Regions from separate parts of the Homo sapiens genome. Here region 1 is linked to region 2. The links are contacts of gene promoters, found by promoter capture Hi-C in human tissues and cell types (Jung and others, 2019). All regions are on one chromosome and are shown on one strand. The core of a region is centred on a gene start or on the middle of the fragment in contact, and the rest is flanking DNA. Distances in the headings are between cores, read along the strand shown. Region 1 holds the start of EXTL1 (exostosin like glycosyltransferase 1). Region 2 holds the start of ZNF683 (zinc finger protein 683).

What was found. Contacts are between HindIII fragments. The study calls those that stand out against the background at their distance.
Region 1: the fragment with the promoter of EXTL1 here is called in contact with the fragment with the promoter of ZNF683 in region 2 in 1 of the 25 tissues and cell types used here (mesenchymal stem cells).

What each region holds. Positions count from the first base shown.
Region 1 is chr1:26,017,833-26,024,695 of GRCh38, reverse strand. It overlaps EXTL1 (exostosin like glycosyltransferase 1), which reads right to left and starts at 2,921. Exons shown (of 11, transcript NM_004455.3): 1 at 1,271-2,921. The coding sequence starts at 2,049. The HindIII fragment of the contact is 12,554 bases long and covers 1,910-6,863 here.
Region 2 is chr1:26,371,228-26,378,147 of GRCh38, reverse strand. ZNF683 (zinc finger protein 683) reads left to right here and starts at 5,398. Exons shown (of 6, transcript NM_001114759.3): 1 at 5,398-5,479. RefSeq lists a cis regulatory region at 1-110. The HindIII fragment of the contact is 13,714 bases long and covers 1,286-6,920 here.

The DNA of each region.
Region 1 (6,863 bases), core at 1,672-4,171, 350 kb after region 2:
CTTGGGGGAGATCCCTGACTTTTCAGGCTCCCACCTTGGAGACCACTAGGGATAGGTCCCAGCAAAAGGACCCTGGGGCTGACCGGGACAAGTCCATTCTTACTCCTGGCTGTGAGGGCTCCCTGGAGGCCTCCATGTACCTTCAGGAAGTGGAAGGATCCCATTCCCACGAGAGCCCTTTGGCCGAGAGAAGTCCCGGGAGCCCCAAGCAGAGGCAAGAATTCCTGGGAGGGAGTGGAGCTCAGAATAGTTGATGTTGTTGGAGCAGAGAATAGGGAGAGAGACCTGAGGGAGGAGCAAAAGGAGGATACCAGAGTGACAGTTCCCGACTCAGGTAGGCCCTGGGAGATGGTGGGATACAGAAGGAACCCTCTGCCACCGGGGCCCTGGACAACCTCAGAGGGACTCCCATTCTTGCCTGCCCAGCTAGCCTTTAGAGGCTGCTGGCCTGCTGGGGACACAGAGGGTTAGAGTGCTTAGGGGATAACTATCACCTGAGGCGCATCACCCCCAACTAGCCCAGGCGGAAAGAGTTTCTGTACAAGCTCACCACATCCCACAGGCCCCCAGTCCCTTATATATGTCAAGGGCCTCTCACTGGCAGGAAATTCTTTAGATCTGACCTGCGTCATATTTGCTATAACCAAAGGCTGTTTCTTTGAGAGGTTAATCCCCAAAATTAGACACGGGAGCAGCTTCCAGCTGTGACTGTGAGGCCCTTCTGAGGCATTTGATGAGGTTGATCATAAACTTTTACTTAAAACTCAGAATTCTCATACTGAAGGCTTTGGAGATAGGCAATTCTGGATCAAAATACTGGCTCTTTCCGGCTGGGTGGCCTGAGAAAAATTACTTAACCTGTCTGAGCTTTCGTGCCTGGTACACAAACACTTAAATGCTAACAACTAGCATATTTTATTATAATCATTATTTATATAAGTGCTTAGCACAGAGTAAGCACTATACAACTGTATGTGGGGAAAAAAAATATTAGGGTAGGAGGTTTGGAATGAGTCGTGTTTTATGTTTTGAAAGATCCCCAGGGGAGAATTCCAAAACCTACCTTAGACAACCCTTGCTTCAAGTCCCCATCTTAATGGAAGTGCTCTCTGCCATCTAACCTGGCTCCCTCCTGCTGCTGCAGCTGAGGCCTAAGTCTACCAGGACTACCTGGTTCTCCCATCTCAGTCCTGCCTTCTACCCTCGTTTTTGGGCTTGCGTCTATTCCAGCCCCCTCCCATCCAGCCCCCAAGGCAAAAGGTTCACTTACTGCCCAGGTCCAGGGTCTTGCTCACAGCGCCCATCCCAGGGGCAGGCAGAGGAGCCAGTGTCTGCTGTGCGCCACCCACCCCTCTCCTCTTCCAGGGCTAGCAGGGCTACCCCGGGCTGGGGGCTGTGTTGCCGCAGCTGGCCAGGAGCCCCACCTCGCAACGGGTGGGCTTCAGGGAGAAAAGGGAGGGCCACATCAAAGCCGGGCCGGAAGGAGTCCACCGTGGGGCTGGCCTCAGCCACCATAGCCTGTCCCAGCTGGAAGGTCCTGGGGCAGGGAGCCGGGTGGAGACGGAGGACCAGATGGTTCCTGCCCCTGTTCCATTGCAGAGGCATTGAGCTGCACTCTCCAGTCTGGGCGTCCAGGCTGAGGAGGAGGAGGAGGCAGGCCCCAGCAGGGCTGAATGTGTAGAAGCGAGAGCCCTCAATGGAAGCCAGGATCCTGCGATGAGTCTCAGAGATGGTTCCAACCGCTGGGTACACGAATACCTTAAGGCCATCGCCCCTGCACTTTGAGGTATCAAAGCAAGATTCCCAGTTGCAGCTGCCACCATGAGGGGCTTGAGGAGGTGAAACGGCATCTTCTGGGAGCTCTCCAGGCTGGGAGAAGCTCTGCAGGAGCTCTGCATCCAGCCAGCGGGGCCAGCCTTGGGAAGCCCCGGGCCGAGGTCTGGGAGGCAATGCCAGGCGGAGAAGGGAGAAGCCTCCCAGCAGGACAAGCAGGAGCCAGGAGGCTGACAGTGCCAGCCACAGGGACTTTCTTCTCCTCCACGACTGCATGTGGCCACCCACAGTCAGGGCTAGGGAAGCTGGGAGGCCTCTGCCAGCAAGCAGGAAGAGCAGGGCCTGGGGCGGGAGACCAGAGCTGGGACCGACCTGCTAGTCCTGTGCTGTCATTGTACAGATGGGAAGACTGAGGCCCATCGAGACCAGGCCGCCTGTCTAAGGTCAGATAGTGAGTCACCAGCCAGGCAGGAGGAGGCCAGGTGGGACCCAGCTTGCTGGCCTGGCCCCCCTGCTCTCAGGACTCTGCCTTCTCGGCCTTTGGACAACCAAGCCAGCCTTTTCCCTCCCAGCAGGGACCCCTGCCCCTGGGCACTGCTCTGGCTGACGCAACCCCTGTCCAGAATGCAGGGCCGTGTCCCCCTGCCCTCCTGGCTGCACCCCTTGACCTTGCCCTCAACTGAGAGGAGGGCTGTCTGCCAGGCCATGGGGACCAGTCAGAGCTCCCACAGGAGGCGGCTTGGCCAGGGACAGGCTGGAGGGAGCTGGGCTGGTCTTCCCACTCCTCCCCTTGCCTGAGCAGCCCTGGCTGCCCCTGTGCCCGCTGGCAGACGCTTCTGGGCTGTGGCCCCTGTGGCTGGAGCTAAAATTAGACCCTGCATCCCATGTGGATCATCGGCGTCAGCTGAGGTCACAGCCTGGGTGCAGCCGGTGTCCCCCTGCCTTGGAGGGCCAGGAGGGCTCGGGGTCCTGATCCTTATCCACTCTGCCGCTGCACCAGCTCAGGAAGTGCAGCCCCTCTTCCCCGCAGCCCAGCAGCTGCCTTGCACCATCTGGCTTGGAGCTATCACAGTGCAGAGGCCAGGGCCGCTGTGCCAAGCCCCCCAAACCCTATGGTATCTCCTCCCATCCCTCTCCAGTCGGCAACTGGCCCATCCTGATCTCTTTCCTTAGCAGCAGCCTGGCTCCTCCCCTCCCAGCCCTGATTCGCTCCTGGCTGGGAGGCAGGGTCTCCATTTAACCCCTTCCAAACCAGTTTCCTCAATTGCTAATCCAACCAGCAAGTACTGCAACTCACAGCTGGCCATGAGTTATCACAGCCTCTGTCTCTCAGTCCTCCAGCCACCCTCCAAGGCAGAGATTTACCTGTCATTTCTTACAGATGAGGAAAGCTCAGAGAGGGGATGAACTCTTCCTAAGGTGACCCAGCTAAGAAGTGGCAGGGTGGGGATTTCAATCCTGAGCTCCTGGTCGTTGGTCACCCCAGCTGTGGGCCCTGTGGCTGGAGAAAAACTAGACCCTGCACCTGCTGTGGGCCATCAGAGTCAGTGGAGGTCAGAGCCTGAGTGTGAGGAATCTCTGAATCGGCACATGAGAAGGTCAACAGGTGAGACAAGTGAGGAGTTAAGGGGCGGGGGTGGAGGAATTGGGTAAGGTGCCCCCAACTGTCCCCAGGATTGGTCTCTCCTCCTTCAGCAGCCCCACCCCCAATCTCCTCCAATTCCCAGCCTTTTGCTCCAGTCCTTATGGAAAGTTCTTCCTGCACTTGACTCTTCCATAGTCCAGGCCCCATGGAGGGATTTCCCCGGTCAGTGCCCTGTGAGGGGAGTCAGGAGTGGGTGATGTCAGCCACTGAGGAATCTCTGGGGTGACGGGGGAGACACACTCTGGCCATGAGGAGTTCTGGGCTGATGAGGGAAGGCACAGGGAGTGGACAGACTTGAGTGGGTTCTGCCTCTTCCCCTGACTGCCTCGGGGGTGTTGGGCCTCTGTCCCCTTATCTCTGGGATGGGCATAATGTCAGCCAGGAATGGGTTGCCAGGTTGACGCAGGCCTGTCCCCTGAGGTCCCTCAACAAGTGGTGGCCTCCTTTCCCCTGCGTGCCTCCCCTTGATCTTGGAGGGCTGCTGATCAGACCAGGGAGCCACCGTGGGATGTTTTGCCCTCAGTGAGCAGCCAGTGTGAGAGTCCTAAAAATGGCCCACAAAGGGGACACTTGCCTCTTGGCACTAATGGCTCAGCCACTCGGTGATGAACTGCAGTTCCTGCATAACTCAGTCCTCCCACACTGAGAGGCATCCACAAAGGCCACTGGCTGCTTCGCACGCCCCCCCTTTCACTGTGCCCAGCCAACTCCTCATCCTGCAGGAGTCAGCTGAAAGCTCCCTCCCCACAAGAAGCTTCTCCAATGCTCCGCAGGCTGGGTTAGAGCCCCCGTCTAGGTCCTCATGTCATTCCTTCATCCCTCTATCCCCATACACAGTCATCCATTCATCTAACAAACACTTATGAGTGTTGAATATGGGCCAGGTTCTGAGCTAGGCCAGGAACACAACCCTGAGTAAGAGTAATCATAGCTGACACTCGTATTGCACTTACAGCGTGCCAAGCATCCCTCTTTTGTATCAGCTTGTTTCATCCTTTCCCCAACCCTAGGAGGGAGAAACTGTGATGATCCACATTTTACAGTTGGGAAAACTGAGGCCGAGGGAGCTTAAGTAATTTGCCTGAATTCTCACGGCTTAGCCAGGACTTGGACCCAGGTAGTGTGCTCCTATATCCGCTGCACCATTCCAGCTCCCAACAGGGAGGGAGACAGACGCGTCCCCACCCTCCAGAGCTCGCTGTCCTGGAGAAGACAATTATAGAACTAGGCAATTGCAGGCAATTACAGAATGAGGGGAGGGGACCCTGAGAGTACACAGAGGGGCTGCCTAGCCCAGGGGGCCAGAGAAGGCTTCCGAGGAAGTGATACCTACCCTAAGACCTGAAAGACAGCAATGTGGTTTTTAGAAAAATCGCTGTGGCTGTCTGTGTGGGATCAGACAGGAAATGGCAGGACTGGAGGCAGGGACAGCTTTTTGACTGGTCTGTCACCCCACAAGTCTCTCATTCATTCAACAGCTATTTACTGAACCCCTATTGTGGGGCCAGGCAGGTCTTAAGGGCAGTGAGCAAAGCAGAAAAAATCTTGCCCTCCTGGAACTTACCCTCCAGGGAGGGGAAATAGGCAAGAAACAAAATGAATAAATATCTCATACTATTTGACAATAACTGCTGGGGAGATGGGATGGGTTGCAATGTTAGACAGAAATACGGGAGGCCTCATAAAAAAGCTGGCATTTGGGAGGCTGAGGCAGGCGGATTACAAGGTCAGGAGATTGAGACCGTCCTGGCTAACACGGTGAAACCCCGTCTCTACTAAAAATACAAAAAATTAGCCGGGCGTGGTTGCAGGCGCCTGTAGTCCCAGCTACTCGGGAGGCTGAGGCAGGAGAATGGCCTGAACCCGGGAGGCAGAGCTTGCAGTGAGCCGAGATCGTGCCACTGCACTCCAGCCTGGGGGACAGAGCGAAACTCCATCTCAAAAAAAAAAAAAAGCTGGCATTTGTGGCCTGGTGCAGTGGCTCACATCTGTCATCTCAGCAATTTGGGAGGCCAAAGTGTGCAGATCACTTGAGGCCAAGAGTTCGAGACCAGCCTGGCCAACAAAGCAAGACCCCATCTCTACTAAAAATACAAAAACTAGCCCGGCGTGGTGGCGCACGCCTGTAATCCCAGCTACTTGGGAGGTTGAGACATGAGAATTGCTTGAAGCTGGGAGGTGGAGATTGCAGTGAGCCGAGATTACGCCACTACACTCCAGCCTGGGTGACAGAGCGAGTCTGCCTCAAAAAACAAAACAAAACAAAACAAAAAAAACTCTGGCATTTGTGTAAATTTCTGAGAAAGTGAGGGAGTGAGTGAAGAAGTATATTTCTAGGGGAAAATCGCTCCAGGCAAGAGGAACAGCCGGGCCACAGGTTCTGAGGCAGGAGTGTGCCTGCCACGTGATTGGTACGCTCTGACCTTGTTTTCACAGCACGACTCAGGCTGCAGGGAAGAGGCCGGCTGTAGGGTCAGGGACAGCAGCAGGGAGCCCTGCTGGGCCAGGCTGTAGTGCAAGTGAGCCACTGCGGTGGCTGGGACCAGGATGGCAGGGGTGGGATGAATAGAAGTAGTTGGATTCTGGGTATATTTTAAGCCAGGGCAAATTGACAGATTTGCTGATAGATTAGATGTGAGGTCCGGCCTGCACCACAGACAGGGTGGAGTTGTCATTAACTGAGATGGGGAAAACTGAGGGGAACAGTTTTAGGGAAGAAGATCAGAAGTCTGGTTCTCATATATCCTTCTTATCCCCAGCAATAATAAAATAAATGTCCAGGTTGGGCACAGTGGTTCACACCTGTGATCCTAGCATTTTGGGAGGCTTAGGCAGGAGGATCCCTTGAGCCCAAGAGTTTGAGACCAGCCTGGGCAACATAGCGAGTCTTTGTCTCTACAAAAAAAAAATTTTTTTTAACTGGAGCTGGTGGCTCATGCCTGTAATCCCAGCTGCTCGGGAGGATGAGGTAGGAGGATTGCTTGATCCCAGGAATTTTAGGCTGTAATGAGCTATGGGTGCCACTGCATTCTAGCCTGGGCACAAGAGGAAGACCCCATCTTTAAAAATATAAAACAAATATAAATAAATAAATAAGCCAGGCATGATGGCATGCACCTGTAGTCCCAGCTACTCAGGTAGCTAAGGTTGGAAGGTCAGCGGGAGGATCTCTTGAGCCCAGGAGTTTGAGATCAGCCTAGGCAACATAGCAAGTCTGTCTTTATTTATTTATTTTTTTAAAGATATATGTATCCAACAAATACTTGTTGAATGAGTGAAGGAATGGAGGGACGGACAAAGTTGAGATAGCTAGGAAGCCAAGCCCAGCTGGTTTGGGGTTTGGAGGAATACCTAATCCCGTTCTATTAATAGCTCTATGTGTCTCCCACCCCAGCCCTGGGGATGCTGGCTGGCTCCTGCCCATGCCCATATTTGTGCACACACA
Region 2 (6,920 bases), core at 4,149-6,648:
CCGGAATGTAATTCCAAGGTCTGAGTCATATTTCTATGGGCTGTATTCCCAGAAAATAGTCCAATGCCTGACACATAGCTGGTAATTAATAAATATGTGAATTACTTTGGGAGGCTGTTTGAGGGCAGGAGTTTGAGACTAGCCTGGTCAGCACAGCCAGACCCTGTCTCTACCAAAATACAACAAGAAAGAAAGAAAGAAAGAAAGAAAGAAAGAAAGAAAGAAAGAAAGAAAGAAAGAAAGAAAGGAAGGAAGAAAGAAAAGGCAAATAAATATGTGAATGAATGACGTTCTTGCAGGGTACCAGATGCTAATTCTGCAGCTCGTTTCAAGATGGCCTCTGTTTGTCTTAATTTTTCTGGGAGCCCCTTCTACCAAACATATTTGTGGCACTTTTTACTTCTTCAAATGCCTGGAAAGTCTTCCCTAAGCTCTCCCTCACCTCTGGGACTTACAACCTCAACTTGGGTCATGTGTTTCTTTTAAAATTGTATATATTTAAGATCTACAACATGATGTTTTGATACACATATGCTCAGTAAAGTGATTACTACAGTCAAGCAATTTAACACATCCATCACCTCACAGTTACCTTTTGTGTGTGTGTGCGGTAAAAGTACCTAAAATTACTTTTAGCAAATGTCTACTATATAATATTACTAACTATAATCCTCATGCTGTATGTTACAGCTCTAGACTTATTCATTCTAAGTAACTGCAACTTTGTACCCTTTGACCTTCATCTCCCATTTCCCTTACACCCCAGGCCCCTGCCCCTGGTAAAGACCTTTCTACTCTCTGTTTCTATGCTTTCCACTTTGGGGTCATGTGGTGTTTTTTGGTTTTTTTTTTTTGAGACTGAGTTTTGCTCTTGTCTCCCAGGCTGGAGTGCAATGGCACGATCTCAGCTCACTGCAACCTCCGCCTCCTAGGTTCAAGCGATTCTCCTGCCTCAACCTCTCAAGTAGCTGGGATTACAGGCACCCACCACCATGCCCGGCTAATTTTCGTATTTTTAGTAGAGACAAAGTTTCACCATGTTGGCCAGGCTGGTCTTGAACTCCTGACCTCAGGTGATCCACCCGCCTCGGCCTCCCAAAGTGCTGGGATTACAGGCATGAGCCACGCCCAGCCAGGTCATCTGATCTTAAGTGAGTCATTTTCCTTATCTGAGTGTCAGTTTTCTTGCCTCTAAAATGGGAATAATGGCATTCATCTCCCAGAGTCACTCTGCTGATCCAGTGAGACAAAGCGTGTGGAATGGCTTTGCATGGTTCCTGGCATATAATGAGGGCTCCCATGCCAAGAGCTATTATTATTGTGGTGTGTGGATGGGGTAGGAGAAGACTGCATTGAATGAGAGCAATGATCCCCAACCAGGGAAGGGTCAATAAATAAAGCAAGAAAACTAAATGTAGTTAATCTCTCCAATTGTGCTGCCCAAATTTCGATCTTCCAAAATGGGTCAGGAATAACCATCAAAATTTTAACACTTTTAAGAAGCTGACTTGCAGATGCTTGCCTAACTAGGTAAAGGGTAATGTACAATATAGTCATCCACATTGGTCAAGTGCTTGCTTTGGGCCAGGCACCATCCTAAGGGCTTTACATGGATTATCTTGAGGAAACCTGGAAATAATTCTATGAGGCAAGTGCTATTATTATCTCCATTTGACAGATGAGGAAAGATGCACAGAGAGGTTAAGTGATTTGCCATAAGTTTACCCAGTTGGGATTAAATCCAGCAGAGCTCGTATTCTTAACCATTCCGCATACTGACTCTGTCTGGAGGTCTTTTCCAGCCTTGTGTAGAAAGGGGAAAATTGGATCCCACCCGTATGTCCACCAACAGGGGAAGGCTACATATTAAGCACAACCCTGCAATGGAACATTATATAGTCAGGAAAAAGCAGGAGGCAGATAGGTATGTTCAGGGCATGAAATGATGCCCACAATGGATTATTAGAAAACCCAGAAGAGACTGGGCATGGTGGCTCCCAAAGTGTAATCCAGCACTTTGGGAGGCCAAGGTGGGTGGATCACTTGAGGTCAGGAGTTTGAGACCAGCCTGGCCAATGTGGTGAAACCCCGTCTCTACTAAAAATACAAAAAAATTAACTGGGCTTGGTGGCGCATGCCTGTAGTCCCAGCTTGAACAGGAGAATTGCTTGAACCCAGGAGGCAGAGGTTGCTAGTGAGCCAAGATCACACCACTGTACTCCAACCTGGGAGGCAGAGTCAGATTCTGTCTCAAAAAAAAAAAAAAAGAAAAGAAAAGAAAAGAAAACCCGGAAGAGCAATGTGCATCAATATATTCCCATGTTTGTATAAAACACAATTTAGCCTTTCAGCCCCTATGCTCAGGCCCACTCCAACACTGTGGAGTGTACTTTATTTTCAATAAATCCCTTCATTTCTTCGTTGCTTTGTTTCTGCTTTTTGTCCAATTCTTTGTTCAAGATGCCAAGAACCTGGACACCCCCCACCAGTGACATATTTTGGCCAGCCAGCCCGGAGGAAGGGCCGCTCAGGGAAAGAGAGCCCAGAAACCTGGCATACCAGCAAAAGGAGGCCATCAAGCTTCAGATGATCATGCAACAAAGGCTCCAGCCAGTCCAGGTGAAGACACCACCCCTGGCCATCAAGAAGCTACCCTGCCTCCACTAGACAGAACAAGGTGAGGGTTCCATGATCCCCAATAAGTAGGGACTACGCCCCATGCCAGCATGAAGCAGTCCCAGGAAAAAGACCATCGGTCCCTCTGCCTCCCGTGAAGATTTACGGGGACCACAATCACATCTCTTAGCGGGGAGATGAGGCAGGAAAATAGGGGCTGGAGGCAGGAAACATAAGGCCAATTCACACTTCAGCTCTGACAGGAAATAGCTTCTCCCTGAGTACATGACATTGTAACTTTACTTCATTCTCTTCATTTACATAGGGCGTACCACAAGCAGAAGGTATTTAAACTCTCAAAAACTCTGTAATGGGGCCTTTGAGCCCCTATGCTCAGGCCTGCTCCCACACTGCAGAGTGTACTTTCATTTTCAATAAGTCACTTCATTCCTTAGGAAAAAAAAAAGCAATTAAAAAAATCAATTTACCTGTTTGTTGGTTCATAGAAAAATGTCTGGAAGGGTAAACACTAAACAATTCACATTGACCACTGGGAAATTGCGAAGGAGGAGGAGCTTCCATTTTTCGTTTTTACATTTTCTGTTGTTTGAAATGTTTACCACTAGTATGTATTATTTTGCAACTAACGAAAGGAAGAAGAAAGTGTGCAGTGAGCACCGGGAGCCCAAGGACCCAGCCCCTCCAGCTCTTGTCCCCTAATGTGGAGGCACCTCCTCTTCAGAGGCCTCCCGAATGTGCCCCTTGCACCTGGAGTCAGCTCCCTACTCCCCCTCTGTCCGCACTTCCCAAACCCACTCTGGTGATCATGGGCTTTCCTTGGCTTGGGTCTCTGGTCTGGGTCAAGGCATCTGCTCAGGTTCCTCAGTTAGAAGACCATGGTCCTCCCTCTGTGCTACCTCCCCAGGGCATGTGGGACAAAGTGACATCACATTTAGGCCTGTGACATCACAGGGCATGGATGACACAAGACAGATGATCTGGGAGATGACAGCAAGGAAGGGCTTGGCAGGCAGAGGCTTCTCCACGTGGGAACCTGAGGGAGTCTGTCCTCAGCCCACCTCCTGGGGCATTTCCTAGCCAAGCCAGGGAGCTTTCAGGATTGGAGACCTGGAAATCTCCAAGGCCATTTCCTTTTTTATTTTTTTCTAACAGAGAGGTTGTGCAAAGTGTTCTGAGAGCTGGGAGCAGAGTGTGATGCCAGGAGGGAGCACAGCTGGCAGATGGAAGCCAAAGGTGTGTGGGGAAGTGCCTTGGAGGGGAGGAAACTTCACTCGGTGCCCCTCACTTCCCTGTGATTCCCAGCAAGACAGCAGGGGAGGCGGGCTTGTGGCCTGGGGGTCTGAGAGGGCTCTTCCTTTTAGGGAGTAGAGTTTTGGTGAACTAAGCCCCTCCATTACGCTGAAGGATACTGAGGGGGCCACTGAGGAGTTGGGGGAAGGACTGGGAACAGCATGTGGGAAGAGAGAGCAAGAAAGAAAGAAATGAGGGGGTGGCTGTCGTAGTGGGGGAAGCTGACATGGCCAAGAGATGGCAGAGTCTGAGGTTTACCACTAAAGAGCTCTTGGCTACTTGTTGTGTGACTCTGGATGAGCTGCTAATAATAAAATCCACCACACAGGCTTATTGTGAAGACTAAATGAGATAAAGTTTATGAAGCCCCTAGCACAGTGCCAGACACAGCAAGAAAGCTGTTTGTAAAGGTGGCTATTTACTCTGTTCCTTGGACAATTCCAGCTGGAACCCTGTTACTTTATCTTCTATTCTGGGCATGTATAATGCAGAATTATCAGTTGTAAGCTACAAAAACCATTTCAGGAGGAGTTAAGCAGAAGGAATTTGTTTAAAAGATGTTAGAAAAGCTCGCAGGAGGTCTGAGAAGGCTGGAGAGCAAGGCTTGGAGAATAGGATGGATCAAGGGAGGCTGGAAGTAGACAGGACCATGGCCAAATATCACACCCCAGGACCAGCCCTGCACAGATTCTGCAGCCTCCCCTGAACCCCCTTCTTTCCTTCACTGCCCTGGAAGCCGGATGTGGTACCACAGCCTTTGTTGTAGAGAGGAGTTTCCACAGACCTGCCACCTCAGGACCAGTGGCTTTTTTTATTGTATTTTATTTTATTTTGAGATGGAGCCTCACTCTGTTGCCCAGCCTGGAGTGTAGCAGAGCCATCTCAGCTCACTGCAACCTCCGCCTCCCGGGTTCAAGCAATTCTCCTGCCTCAGTCTCCCAAGTAGCTGGAAATACAGGCACGTGCCACCACACTTGGCTAATTTTTGTATTTTTGTAGAGATGGGGTCCCACCATGTTGGCCAGGCTGGTCTTGAACTCCTGACCTCAAGTGATCTGCCCGCCTCGGCCTCCCAAAGTCCTGGGATTACAGGCGTGAGCCACTGCGCTCAGCCAGTGGCACTAGCTTCTGATCTGCTAGTCTACTGGGCTGCAGTGGAGATTAATGGCTGCTTGGGGCTTTTGTACCCTGGGCCAGACTCACGCACACCAGAATTTGTGTGAGGCCACAGGGGTTATGCCTCTTCTCATGCTCACAAGACTCGGCTTGGCAAGGAAATGTCCCAGGAGGTGGGCTAAGACAGACTCCCTCAGGTTCCCACATGGAGCAGCCTCTGCCTGCCAAGCCCTTCCTTGCTCTCGTCTCCCAGATCATCTGTCTTGTCAGCCTCCATGCCCTGTGATGTCACAGGCCTAAATGTGATGTCACTTTGTCCCACATGCCCTGGGGAGGTAGCACAAAGGGAGGACCATGGTCTTCTAACTGAGGAACCTGAGCAGATGCCTTGACCCAGACCAGAGACCCAAGCCAAGGAAAGCCCATGATCACCAGAGTAGGTTGGGAAGTGCGGATAGAGGGGAAGTAGTTTTTATTTTTTTCTAACAGAGAAGTTGTGCAAGGTGTTCTGAGAGTTGGGAGCAGAGTGTGATGCCAGGAGAGGGCAGAGCTGGCAGATGGAAGCCAAAGGTGTGCGGGTCACCCCTTCTGGGTGGGGACATCTGATCGACCTAGTCCATGTATGCCTGCATGAAGTGCTGGTGAGGGAGGTTGGAATTAAGTATTTGGCCATTTCGGCTTTTATAATGGGAGGTACCTTTTGCCTCCCTCAAGACTCATGTAGGGGAAAAGTTTCAGAGGCTGGGCGTCCAAAAAAACCTGACAGATGTCTACATGGAAAACCAAAATGAGTAGACAGAGGACCCTGTCCTTGAGATGCTCACAAACATGTTGGGATCAGTTATGTGGAGGATGAGTCACAGCCCTAGGGGCTGAGCTGGCAGAGAAACCCCAGGAACATGCCCCAGCCCATGGTGCACAGCCTGAGATGTCCCTGTATATTCTGGGACACCAGGGTGGCGTGGCTGGGGTGCAGATTGATGGCTGGTTGGGGCTTTTGCACCCTGGGCCAGACTCACGCACACCAGAATTTGTGTAAGGCCGCAGGGGTGATGCCTCTTCTCATGCTCACAAGAATAATGACATTGCTCAGGCTAAAAAGCCACTTTCTGGCCTATGAGGTCTCCCTTTTTGTATCTAGACATGTCTTTTCCTTATTTATTAACTTTTTTTAAGACAGGGTCTCGCTCTGTCACCCAGGCTGGAGTGCAGTGGCATGATCTCAGCTCACTGCAGTCTCGACCTCCCTGGCTCAAGTGATCCTCCCACCTCAGCCTCCTGAGTAGCTGGAACAACAGGCATGCGCTACCATGCCTGGCTAATTTTTGTATTTTTTGTAGAGATGGTGTTTCACCATGTTGCTCATGCTGGTCTTGAACTCCTGGGCTCAAGCAGTTGGCCCACCTCAGCCTCCCAAAGTGCTGGGATTACAGATGTGAGCCACCACACCTGGCCTAGTCATGCCTTACACCCATTTTGCTATGTCTATTTTTTTTTTTTTTAAAGAGACAGGGTCTTTCTCTGTCACCCAGGCTAGAGTGCAGTGGCAATATCCTAGTTCACTGCAGCCTTATATTCCTGGGCTCAAGTGATCCTCCTGCCTCAGCCTCCTGAGTAGCTGGGACCAGAGGTGCAAGTCACCATGCCCAGCTAAGTTTTGTATTTTTTGTAGAGATGAGGTCTTGCTTTGTTGCCCAGGCTGATCTCAAACTCCTGGGCTCAAGAGATGGGTCTGCCTTGGTCTCCTGAAGTGCTGGGATTACAGATGTGAGCCACTTCACCTGGCCATGTGCTTGAATTATCTTTTGCCTCTTGGGGCCTCTAGATTAGAGGATAGAACTTTCCAGGGTCAGGAGATCTGAGATGGGACTTGGAGG